Regions from separate parts of the Homo sapiens genome. Here all the other regions are linked to region 3. Evidence: promoter capture Hi-C in 16 types of primary human blood cells and fetal thymus (Javierre and others, 2016). All regions are on one chromosome and are shown on one strand. The core of a region is centred on a gene start or on the middle of the fragment in contact, and the rest is flanking DNA. Distances in the headings are between cores, read along the strand shown. Region 1 overlaps SPEF2 (sperm flagellar 2). Region 2 overlaps UGT3A1 (UDP glycosyltransferase family 3 member A1). Region 3 holds the start of AGXT2 (alanine--glyoxylate aminotransferase 2). Region 4 overlaps UGT3A1 (UDP glycosyltransferase family 3 member A1).

Region 1 (2,707 bases), core at 204-2,703, 580 kb before region 3:
AGCTATTTAATATTAATAGCTCTCTTTTGCAGCAGTGTTTGAGAATTGCTGGGTGCCATGCCTGCCACATAGTAGGCACATAATGATAAGTGCAGAATTTTATTTTATTTTTTGATGGAGTCTCACTGTGTCGCCTAGGCTGTGGCCTAATCTACAACCTCTGAGTGCAGTGGCCTGATCTACAACCTCTGACTCCTGGGTTCAAGCGATTCTCCTGCCTCAGCCTCCCGAGTAGCTGGGATTACAGGTGTGTGCCACCACACCCAGCAAATTTTTGTATTTTTAGTAGAGAGGGGGGTTTCACCATGTTGCCCAGGTTGGTCTCGATCTTTTGACTTCATGATCCACCTGACTCGGCCTCCCAAAGTGCTGGGATTACAGGCATGAGCCACCGTGCCCAGCCGAGAAAAAAAATTTTTAAGTGTTCAATAGGATTTGCTTTTTTAAAAAATGTTCTTAGTTTTGAGTTACTTGTATTTTTCTTATAAAGTAAAATATATAGACTTACATGATATTTAAGGATTATATACAAAATAAATTATATTATCATAGGCCAAAGCTATCATCTCTCAAATTACTTCAAAATCCTCCACAGATATTCAACCTGCTTCCATCAGGTTAACATATAATATAACATATTATATTAAATATAATATTTTAACATCGGTTAAAATATTATATGTCATTGCAGTATCACAAATTCAGTTTTGCCAGATTGTTCTATTTTACCTGTCTGACTAATAATGAGGTGGCTAATTGACAGTGAAGAAATAACATTTCTTCATGATTTGTAGAAGCGATGCTTGGTTGTGTGGTTGTAGGAAGTTGAGCTAAGTTGCTCCATAACAGCCACTGTGCAGTCCTCACTCCAAAGATTACACCCTATCATAATACTTTTTGCATGTCTGATACCAGAACACAGTTTTCTCTAAGACTTTCTTAATATCTGTTCTCAAAACCCTTTATACTCAGAGTAATACCTCAATCCTTAAGTTGAGTCAATACAATAATAAAGGTAGTTAAAAAGATGTCAATGGTTCCCACTGATTCTATGTACTCAGGGTGAGCTCTTGAACTGTCTAGAATTAGAATCTATTAATTATGGTTACATAATTTTTATATGCAATAGAAAAAATAAAAGGTAAAAAACATTAAGGGGAAGCAATGCTTTTTTTGTCTATGGATCACTTTAGCAACAAGTAAAGAAATGAAACTTTTATAAGCCCTAGGAAAATGAAAGCTTCCAATCACATAACCTTGTGTTCAGCTATAGTTCATGTGAGAACAGACACATTGCATCTATTCTTAAAGTCCACAGTCTGGCACCTATTAGTGGATTTTAGTAAGCTTTTCCACAAACAGACCAGTTTTATCATCATTTTAAAACTATTCAGGGCAGAATGATCTCACTCTAAACCCATGATACATTCTTTCAGAGTTGATGGTTTGATGCCCTTCCTATCAGTCATATCTGTCCTTCCGAAGCTATGTCTTAATGTGAAACACTGAAGCAACTCTTGAGAAAATATACTTAGAGAAGAGTATGTCCTAAAGCTTCCAGCAGGAGAATTTGAAATTCATGGCATACCTGAGCTCTATAACTCAGCTAGATCTATTGTACCGCCTGGAACACCTTACAGCACAAGTTAAGCTTGAGCTTCATAACCTAGGCACTGATTTTTTCCGACTTTAACGCAACACCATTTGAATATCATAATGCCTTTCGATGCTACTAAAATGAAGATTGGCTTGATCTTATACTAAATGTCATCTGTCATTCAGCAAGTGTCTTCCGGCTTCATACCTCAGTAGTCTTTAAAGCAACTGAAATCCAAAGGGTTCCTTCTGCTCCAATGGGCAAAAGTGTGCCACCTCCTCCTGTGTCACTGCAGCTTTCTCCTTCCCTTACAGACCCCAAAGCTCTCGTTGCCACCATGACCCTCAATGTGCCACCCAGGGTGCTCTAGCTGTGTCTTTCACCTCTTCTGTCTGTTGCTTTCTTCTGTCTGCCTCTTCCCTTCTCTCCTCCCTAGCCTATCCCTATTCTTCCCTTAGTTTTCTAAAGAGCCACTGGACATAGAACCATTATTCATCTATGGATGTATCTGTGTCTTTCTATTCCTACGCCATCAGGGTCTTGTCCCAATTTTTGGCTTATTGCTTTCTGTTCAAGAGCTGTTGCTATGTTACCTTCAGGTAATCTCTTTCCCTTCCTGCCTCCCTCTGGGGTTTGCACTGTGCCTGTTGTTCACGTTGACTGAATGCTGAAAGTCTAGCCCAGGAATAACTGGGGAATACTAAATCCGTTTCCTTCATCTTCAGTGTGGCTGACAAACGGTCTGTAACAAACCATTTTCTACAAAAAGGTCACCAGAAAAATAAAATCATTACCCATTTCCTTTGAAATGGCATGGCATATTAATAAGGCAATTATGATATGGATAAAATAGAGGTGTTTATAGTATAAAGGTTAAAGAACAATAGTAAACACTTAATGTACTTCATTGTCAGAGTAGTTTATAAAAAATCTGTAAGTATCAAAATATCTGTCTGAAGCTTTTTATGCATAAGACACTTCAGATTTACCATGTACCACATCAGCAGAAACTAGAACAGTGAGTGACGAATACAGCAAATGATAAAAGCAATAAAGGGGAAACTTGGAGAAAAAAATTAAAAGAAAAAGAAAAAAGAATACATATAGGAA
Region 2 (2,875 bases), core at 82-2,581, 920 kb before region 3:
AATACCACAGACCCTAGGCTCAGTTTTCAGTGAATTTTGGTAGATTTTCTTGAATAAATATTTCTTCTTTTTCTGTATGCCCTAGAACCATTTCCAACATTTGTGTATGTGTGTGTGTGTGTGTGTGTGTGTGTGTATGCGTGTGTCATTTTCACCAGTTTTGGTGTGAACAGTGTCTGGAGAGTTACTCATGCTATTATGCTGGGAATGGAATGTTGGTAATGATGGAGCATTGTTAAACTTACCAAGCAATTCTTCTCAGGAATGTAACTGAAGCACCATGCCTTCTACTTTGTGTGTGGCAATGGCACATCCCTTTTTGTGCGTTCCTTTGTATATATAATATGTCTTGAATAAGCGCACCCTGTGTATGTCTTGAATGATTGTGCTTGATGAGTCTCCTCCAAGGAGGACATCCTCATTATAATGTCATAACTGCTCCTAGGGAAAGTTGGATATGATGATGGTCTTGCTGGCAGTGATTGTGGGCCAGGATATTGAGGTTCCCCACAGTCATCCAGTTACAGGTGATTTATGGCCTTTTAAAGATAAAGGGAAACTGACTGAGATCCTATTGAAATAGGCCTTGAATGGAACATATTTGTCAAATCTATGATTGCAAAGTATTTGTTAGTATTCAAATGTAGTAAGCAATTTTTAATAACCATGGGTATGAGGTTCTAAATGTGATGGATCCTGGCATTAAGGCTGTAGTAAAATGTTGTGAGGCATCATTAATTCTTGCTAGGTTTAAAAATAGTCCAAATTGGGATTTTAAAGGGAGAAAGAATGGAGACAATTAACCCTTTTCTAAATAGATCTTTCATAATGGAATTTAATCCGTAAAGGCCCTGCTTTAATCTATTTTGGGCATTGTTAATAATTTTAATATACTGAAGCAGATCCACAGCATCCCTTTTTGTTAAGCCAATTCTAAGTGCCAAAGAAACAATTTTATGTTAGTTTTTTAATTGTTAGTTAAGAGTAGCCATGCCCAGAATGCAATGGAATATTTTAGGAAATGAGTCTTAAGACTATGGAGTATTGATATGGTTTGGCTGTGTCCCCACCCAAATCTTATCTCGAATTCCCACGTGTTGTGGGATGGACCTGGTGGGAGGTAATTGAATCATGGGGACAGGTCTTTCCTGTGCCGTTCTTGTGATAGGGAATAAGTCTTACGAGATCTGATGGCTTTTTTTTTTTTTTGAGATGGAGTCTCACTCTGTCACTAGGCAGGAGTGCAGTGGCGCTATCTCAGCTCACTGCAACCTCTGCCTCCCAGGTTCAAGTGATTCTCCTGCCTCAGCCTCCTGAGTAGCTGGGACTACAGGTGTGTGCCACCACGCCTGGCTAATTATTTTTGTATTTTTAGTAGAGATGGGGTTTCACCGTATTAGCCAGGATAGTCTTGATCTCCTGACCTCATGATCTGCCTGCCTCAGCCTCCCAAAGTTCTGGGATTACAGGAGTGAGCCACAGTGCCCGGCCAAGAAATGATGGTTTTATAAGAGAGAGTTTCCCTGCACAAGCTCTCTCTCTCTTTGCCTGCTGCCACCTATGTAAGACATGACTTGCTCCTCCTTGCCTTCTGCCATGATTGTGAGGTCTCCTCAGCCATGTGGAACTGTAAGTCTATTAAATCCTTTTTCCTCTATAAATTATCCAGTCTCAAGTAGGTCTTTATCAGCAGCATGAAAACAGACTAATACAGGTATTTAGTACCAATGCTTAAGATGGGGCATATATATTTGCCGTCTATATTATATTGGATAACTCCTTAAGAGTACAGAGGTAATATTACTTAAATTTAGTGAAATATTCTGATATACCTGTAACTTTTGCCCAATTGTTGATTAAGGTTATTACGGTTCGCAGGGGTGTATTTGATCTGATGTTAATCTAGAACTTACAATGTAGAGAGAAAATAGCCAATCAGTGTCCTTTTAATTTTTCTGTTAAAAAATAAATGTTAAATTTCCAAAGGGTTAAGTTGTAGACCTTTGTTTTAGTTTTTGTTCTTGCATCCCACCCGTCCCCCTCCCCACCCCTTTTGACTAACCTAATTCTCTCTTTCTCTTTTTGGTTGTTATCAGGTGTACTTTGGTGGTGGTGGGTGGATGGGTGTCCTTTCTAACATGCTCATCTTTGTAAGTTTCTTTCTGAGAGAGTTCCAATGAGTATCAGCAAGGTTAGAGACCTTCTTTCTGGTAATTTTGAGAGACCCAAGGCTTAAATTGGGTTTGAAGGATCTCTTTGGCTGTATAGTGTTGTCATGGGTGCTTTTCCTAATAATTCTGTTCATCTGGAGCATTTTTAGCTACAGAGATATAATCAGCAATAGTAGCAAAGGCATTTTCTGAGGTCCCAGTGGACCATCTATTTTTAGGATTGTGGATGTGAGCATGCCACACAATGATTACCATTCTTCACACCATTTGGAGGGATCATATATTGCACTGATGTCAGTCTTAACCCTGAGTGCTCTTTACAATGGTGTGTGTGTGGGAGGTGATATATGATTGGGACACATAACCAGTGCTCATAGGGTAAGAGTTATTCCACTGAGTTACTGTCAACCACAGCTCATGCTGTAGTTGAGAAACACAATTCCATCTGAGACATACAGATAGCTTTGGTTTGAGACACATGATCCAGGGCTACTGAAAAGAGGATCCCTGTTTGTCATTCCTGTCTCACAATGCAAATTATTGAAACTTCTGATTGAAACTTGAATTGAGGTGAGGATTCTCCCACTTTGGCCTGGCTTGCTTGGTTTGGAGTTCTCATTAGTAACAAGGGAGAATGAGTTGAAGTTTTCTTCTCAGTTTGACCAGATGAGGCATAGAAAGTGAAGTAGGAGCTGGGGCTGGAA
Region 3 (3,012 bases), core at 329-2,828:
TACATATTATGTTATGGTAATCCGAATAATTTATTTTCTTTTTAAATAAAAGAGGTATAACCTCCCACTTTCCCTCTAGAAGTTATTCAGAATGTACTGTTTTTCTTCCCCACTCCAGGTGACCCCTTGATGTTGGGTGCCTCTCATTACAAAAATCTCAAATCTTACAGACCAAGAAAAATCTCAAGTCAAGGAAGACTTGCGGTGTTCACAAAGGCAACATTGACCACAGTCCAGTAGAGCTGAAGAGCATATACCAGAATTCAGGAACTCAACATTTTCTCCCCTCTGTCCAACCACAGGACAGACTGTGCACCCCAGGGAGATGCTGTGTGTCCACTGGCCTCACTGACTTGGATTACTCCTGCAGCACGTGACCAGCCAGCTCATATGATCACTCCCTACTGCCCCCAAAGCAGAATTGACTGGGAGCTGGAAACCCACACAAAAAGGGACAATTATATTGAATGTAACATACTCCCTCTGCTTACCTAGTGCCTTCACCTCCTATGGGCATTTGGAGTAAAAGGTTGTTATGCAGGTGTTTGTGAAGGATGTGGCCAAGTCAGTTGTCTCCCTTACAGGGTGACCCAAGATTAATGATATCTACCCATCCCCAGTCCCTCGACCCCCTAGTTGCAATCAGCTTTGTCACTGTCCCCCTTAGGCACTGCCATGTAAAGCACGTGGTCCCCCATTCTGAAGCAGTGGGAAACCTAGAAGAGATGTACTCTTCGCAACCTGGTTGGATCTTAAAAACATGGTTCTAACTGAAAAGAAAAAAGACATATTACACATATTTACATAAATTAAAACTGCATTCACCCTAAACAATACACATTTTACAAGAATGCGTTCCAACAAAAGGATATATATAAGCATGCTAAATACTTGCTTATGGGGATTGAAGGTAAGGGGAGGCTGGAGTGGGATAAATAGGAATTTAAGAAATAATGAAAATAAGGCACACTAACTCCTTAGCTCTCAACCTTTTGCCTTCCTCAGACACATAAGATGATCCACAGCTGTCCAGAACCTTACCTAGCTATTTGGTACTCTCAGCTTTTCTTTGGAATGGCTCCTTCCCCATTGTTTTCTCCTCTCTTTCTCTAAGACCCCCAAAACCAATTTATTTGTTCATTCACTTCATGCATATCTTCCTTTTTCCTCTCTTAGTCACATACCTCGTTTCACAATCTCCGACCCCTTCAACCATGTCCTGATCCTTCTCCCACACCCAGCACCACCCTCCTGCAGAGAAAAGTGTACCCGGATGAAACTCCGATGGAATATTAAACTAACAGAACTTGTCAGATGACCTTTGCTTTATCTGCCTGCTTTCTTTCCTCTTCCCTTCTGTTCTCTTCTTTTCCTTTCTTTTCTCTCCTCTTCTCTCTCTCCTTCCTATTTTCATTCTATCTCTTTTCCTCACTCTCTTTTTCTCCCCCTTGAAGGCACTGTTACTAGAAATAGAGAGCTCTGGGGCTTGCCTGAAGCCATGGGCAGTCACCACTCCAGGATTCCCCTTTTAGCGCCTCCTCCCCATCTTAATCTCAAAGTCCAGCAGGATAGTGAGCAGTTAGAGCCCGGCCTCCAATCTGCTTCCATGGGGGTTGGCTTTCTGAGTGGGAGAAATGACTCTAATCTGGAGACATTTGCTGAGACCCTTGTGCCTGGTCACTTCCGCTCCCAGGATCCTTGAGATGCATCCTTTCCTGAGCCGTAAGTGGAAACCAGGGGGACGTGGGTCAGTAGAGGATCAGCGAGAGGGTAAGACTTGAGCTCCGAAGGCTGCTGCCTGGGATTCTGGAATGTTAGACCTGGGTGAGGTCTTAGAGATGAGGCATGTTTTTGACACACAGGTTCTCACCCTGAGTCAATGCCCCATTTTCATAGCCAATATTTTGTAATGCTCCTTTTTGTTTTGAAATGAAATTCGTGGATAATGAAACCCGACTATACACAATTTCAACATGACATGCTATCTCAGCTTCAATATTTTTAAAAACCAAAGGAAAGCAATCAAAATAGAGTGTGACTTCAATTTACAGATGCCCAAGGATGATTTCTATTTTTTCTTTTTTGAGACAGGGTCTCCCTCTGTCACCTAGGTTGGAGTACAGTGGTGTGATCATGGTTCACTGCAGCCTTGACCTCCAAGGCTCAAATAATTCTCCCACCTCAGCCTCCTGAGTAGCTGGAACTATAGGCACATGCCACCATGCCTAGCTATTTTTCTTTTTTAACTTTTGTAGACATGGGGTTTTACTATGTTGCTCAAGTTGGTCTCGAACTCCCGGGCTCAAGCAATCCTCTCACTTCAGTCTTTCAAAGTGCTCGGATTGCAGGCCTAAGCCATTGCACCAGGCTAGGATGACTATTTTAAAAGATGTAAAGCATCTGCATGAATTTTCATCATGCCTCTAGGAAGTGAGACCACGCTCTCAATTGCCAACAAGTGCTGTGATTCACCCAGAGTCATCCAAGCCAGGGCTTGACCCCAGGCCCTCCCCATCTACTCAGACTCTCCTCTCTGCAGCAAGAACAGAAAATATGAGGAGATGTGGGGTAACCAGACATTGGTGGCTTTATGAGTAATATCCTATATGCTTGTGATTTTCACATGGATCTTGTTTCACGAGAGCCTCACCTCCTCCTCAGCAAATTCCCTCATGCAAACATGAGATTAAGCAACTGTCTGTACATTTATGTGCCTGTGCTTCACGGGCCGTAAACAGGTACAGGGGACCATTTTACATTCCCCATTGTGACCAACTTTGCCTTCATTTTCTCCTCATATTTCCCTTTCACCCTCCTTCCTTCCTCTCCTCTTCGCTTTCTTACCCCTGAAAATTGCAGTTTTTTGAAACTTGACACATGCATGATGCTTTAAATGCATTATCTCCTTTTATCTTCAACCAAACTTGTTAGTGAGTACTATTATCTCATTCCACAAATGAGGAGACAAGAGAATAAGGAATATCTAAGAAATGTGGTCAAAGGCAGAAACAT
Region 4 (2,775 bases), core at 64-2,563, 940 kb before region 3:
AGGCTTTTATTATGTAAGTATAGAAGTTCTTCTTATCCCACAGGTTACTTTCTATTCTTGAGAGACTTGAAATTTATGAAAGATTTCCCAGGGAGCCTCTTAATTATTAACTAAGATGAGAATATATGATTAACACGACCTCATATGCTTGAAAAATTTGTAGCTATGCATAAGTTGTACATAATGATGTCAGAAGTTTTTAATTGATTCATTTCCTCCAAAGAATTGTAACTAAAATGAAACTCATAAATTCCTGTTGACAGACAAGGAGACGGAGGTCCAGGGAACTGAAAAAATTTGTTTAATGTCAAATGAAAAATTAATAACAGAGTTGGGCGAATCTGGGTCTTCAGGCTCTGGGTTTCTCAATCTGAGGGTTTCTGAAGCTTTGAACAACATCAAAAATTAACCATCTTGGGAGAAAAAGTCTGAGTCATTATAAAATTCTGAAGGTAAACTTCAGGCCTTGTTAATGTTTAGATAGTTTTAATGCACTTTTGATCACCTTCTAGATTGAGTTTTGGAATGTTCACTGAATATCCTTTTTATACATTTTCCTTTGTATCTGCCTTATAGTGTCTGATTTCTCAGCAGTAATATATGGTCATCTTATTTTGGTGGTTCCAATAGCTTTTGACAAACTGCTGAAAGCTATAGACCCACTACTTTAACAGACCATGCACACCAAAATCTACAAATGATTCTGTGGATTCATGAATCTGTTCAGCTTTATCTTTGGGTTCAAGTGTTGGGGTTCAAGTGTTCTAGAGTTTCTTTCAGTATTCCTCAATCTTTGGACATTTCTGCGGTTGAGATGAAATATTCTTCCTTCTAGTTTGCAGTAGTATTTGGGTAGAGCTCTGAAAGTAGGAAAAGCACTTGATTGGGTTGTTTTTGATAGTCTGATAGCCAAATCAGTGTATTGAAATACTTGTACATTTGTTAACTACATGTTTCCATCACTTCCTTATTTAAAACTTTAATAAATAAATGACTTCAGGGATACTGAAGAAGTGTAGGTTTTTTGTGCTCACGCGCAGTATTTTTCCAACTCATAACTGAAATCTCACGTATAGGATAGCAGCCTAAAGGAGAACATAATTATTTGAGGTTCTGACTCTTTTTCCTTTTTAAAAAATTTATACATTTTTATTGCTGCATAATAGATGTACATATTTTCAGGGTGCATGTGATAATACATTTATATAATTTGTAAGGATCAAATCAGTGTAATTGGGATATGCATGACCTTAAATATTTGTTTTTTCTTTATTCTAGAAACATTCAAACTATTCTCTTCTAGCTACTTTGAAACATACAATAGATTATTGTAAACTATAGTCACCCTACTGATCTATCAAACACTAGATCTTATTTCTTCTGTAAAGCTATAGATATGTACTCATTAATCAACCTCTATCCATATCCCCTGTCCACTACCATTTCCGGTCTCTAGTAATCACCAATCTACTCTCTACTTTCATAAGATCCTCTTTTGTAAGCTACTGCATATGGGTGAGAACATTGGATATTTTTCTTTCTATGCTTGGCTTATTTCACTTAATATAATGGCCTCTAATTCAATACATATTGCTGTAAATGACACAATTTCATTATTTTCTATAGCTGAATAATATTTCATTGTGGATTTAAATCACATTTTCTTTATGCATTGTCCACTGATGTGCACTAAGGTTGATTGCTTTACTTTGGTTATTGTAAACAGTGCTGCAATAAACATGGGAATGAAGCTATCTCTTCGATATATTGACTTTTTTTCTTTTGGATTATATATCTAGTAGTGGAATTGCTGCATCATATGGTAGTTCTGTCTTTAGTTTTTTGAGGAATCTTGATAGAGTTTTCCATAGCAGCTGTACTAATTTACAGTGTATGAGGGTTCCCCTTTCTTGACTTTCGTGTCAGCATTCATTATTCCGTTTTTCAGATAAAAGCCATTTTAACTGTGATGAGATGATATCACATTGTGATTTTGATTTGCATTTTTCTGAGGATAAATAATGGTGAACATTTTCTTATGTATCTGTTGGTTATTTTGAGAAATGTCTATTCAGATCTTTTTCCCATTTTTAACTATTTATTTGCTATTAAGTTGTTTGAGCTGTTTATATATTCTGGTTATTAATCCATTGTGAAAAGAATAGTTTGCAATTATTTTCTCCATTCTTTGGGTTGTCTTTTCATTTTGTTGACTGTTTCCTTTGCTGTGCAGAAGCTTTTTGGCTTGATGTAATCCCATTTGTCTATTTTTGCTTTGATTGCCTGTACTTTTGATGTCTAACTAAAAAAGTCTTTGCTGAGACCAATGTCTTGGAATAGTTCCTCAATGTCTTCTTCTAGTAGTTTCATAGTTTTAAGTCTTAGAATTAAGTTTTAAATCCACTCTGACCTTATTTTTTTGTATGGTGAGAGACAGTGGCTTGGTTTTGTTCTTTGCGTATATCCAGTTTTACAGATTCTCCAGCACCATTTATTGTAAAGACTGTCCTTTCCTCATTATATGTTCTTGGCCTCTTTGTTGAAGATAAGGTTGCTATACATGTGTAGGTTTTTATCTGGGCTCTTCTGTTCCATTGGTCTATGTGTCTGTTTTCATGCCAGTACCGTGCTGATTTGGTTACTATACGTTTGCAGTATATTTTGAAGTCATGTAGTTTGATGCCTCTGGCTTTCATCTTTTTGCTCAGGATTGCTTTGGTTACTCAGGATCTTTTATGGTTCCATATACATTTTATAATTTTTTTCTATTTCTGT

The links. Contacts are between HindIII fragments. The CHiCAGO score rates a contact against its expected background, and 5 or more counts as called.
Region 1: a contact is called between a fragment that was not itself captured here and the fragment with the promoter of AGXT2 in region 3, in 1 of 17 cell types (M1 macrophages). The highest score is 5.4, in M1 macrophages.
Region 2: a contact is called between a fragment that was not itself captured here and the fragment with the promoter of AGXT2 in region 3, in 3 of 17 cell types (activated CD4 T cells, naive CD8 T cells and total CD8 T cells). The highest score is 7.8, in activated CD4 T cells.
Region 4: a contact is called between a fragment that was not itself captured here and the fragment with the promoter of AGXT2 in region 3, in 1 of 17 cell types (naive CD8 T cells). The highest score is 5.7, in naive CD8 T cells.

Annotation. Positions count from the first base shown.
Region 1 is chr5:35,625,016-35,627,722 of GRCh38, reverse strand. The region is part of intron 1 of SPEF2 (sperm flagellar 2); the gene reads right to left. Among named protein-coding and RNA genes, the nearest start is that of SPEF2, 8.5 kb to the right of the region's middle. The HindIII fragment of the contact is 207 bases long and covers 1,350-1,556 here.
Region 2 is chr5:35,968,725-35,971,599 of GRCh38, reverse strand. All of the region lies in intron 2 of UGT3A1 (UDP glycosyltransferase family 3 member A1), which reads left to right. Among named protein-coding and RNA genes, the nearest start is that of UGT3A1, 21 kb to the left of the region's middle. The HindIII fragment of the contact is 3,790 bases long and covers 1-2,875 here.
Region 3 is chr5:35,046,515-35,049,526 of GRCh38, reverse strand. AGXT2 (alanine--glyoxylate aminotransferase 2) reads left to right here and starts at 1,578. Exons shown (of 14, transcript NM_031900.4): 1 at 1,578-1,722. The coding sequence starts at 1,635. It also overlaps a transcript of PRLR not described here. The HindIII fragment of the contact is 8,089 bases long and covers 1-3,012 here.
Region 4 is chr5:35,985,340-35,988,114 of GRCh38, reverse strand. The region is part of intron 2 of UGT3A1 (UDP glycosyltransferase family 3 member A1); the gene reads left to right. Among named protein-coding and RNA genes, the nearest start is that of UGT3A1, 4.7 kb to the left of the region's middle. The HindIII fragment of the contact is 1,850 bases long and covers 389-2,238 here.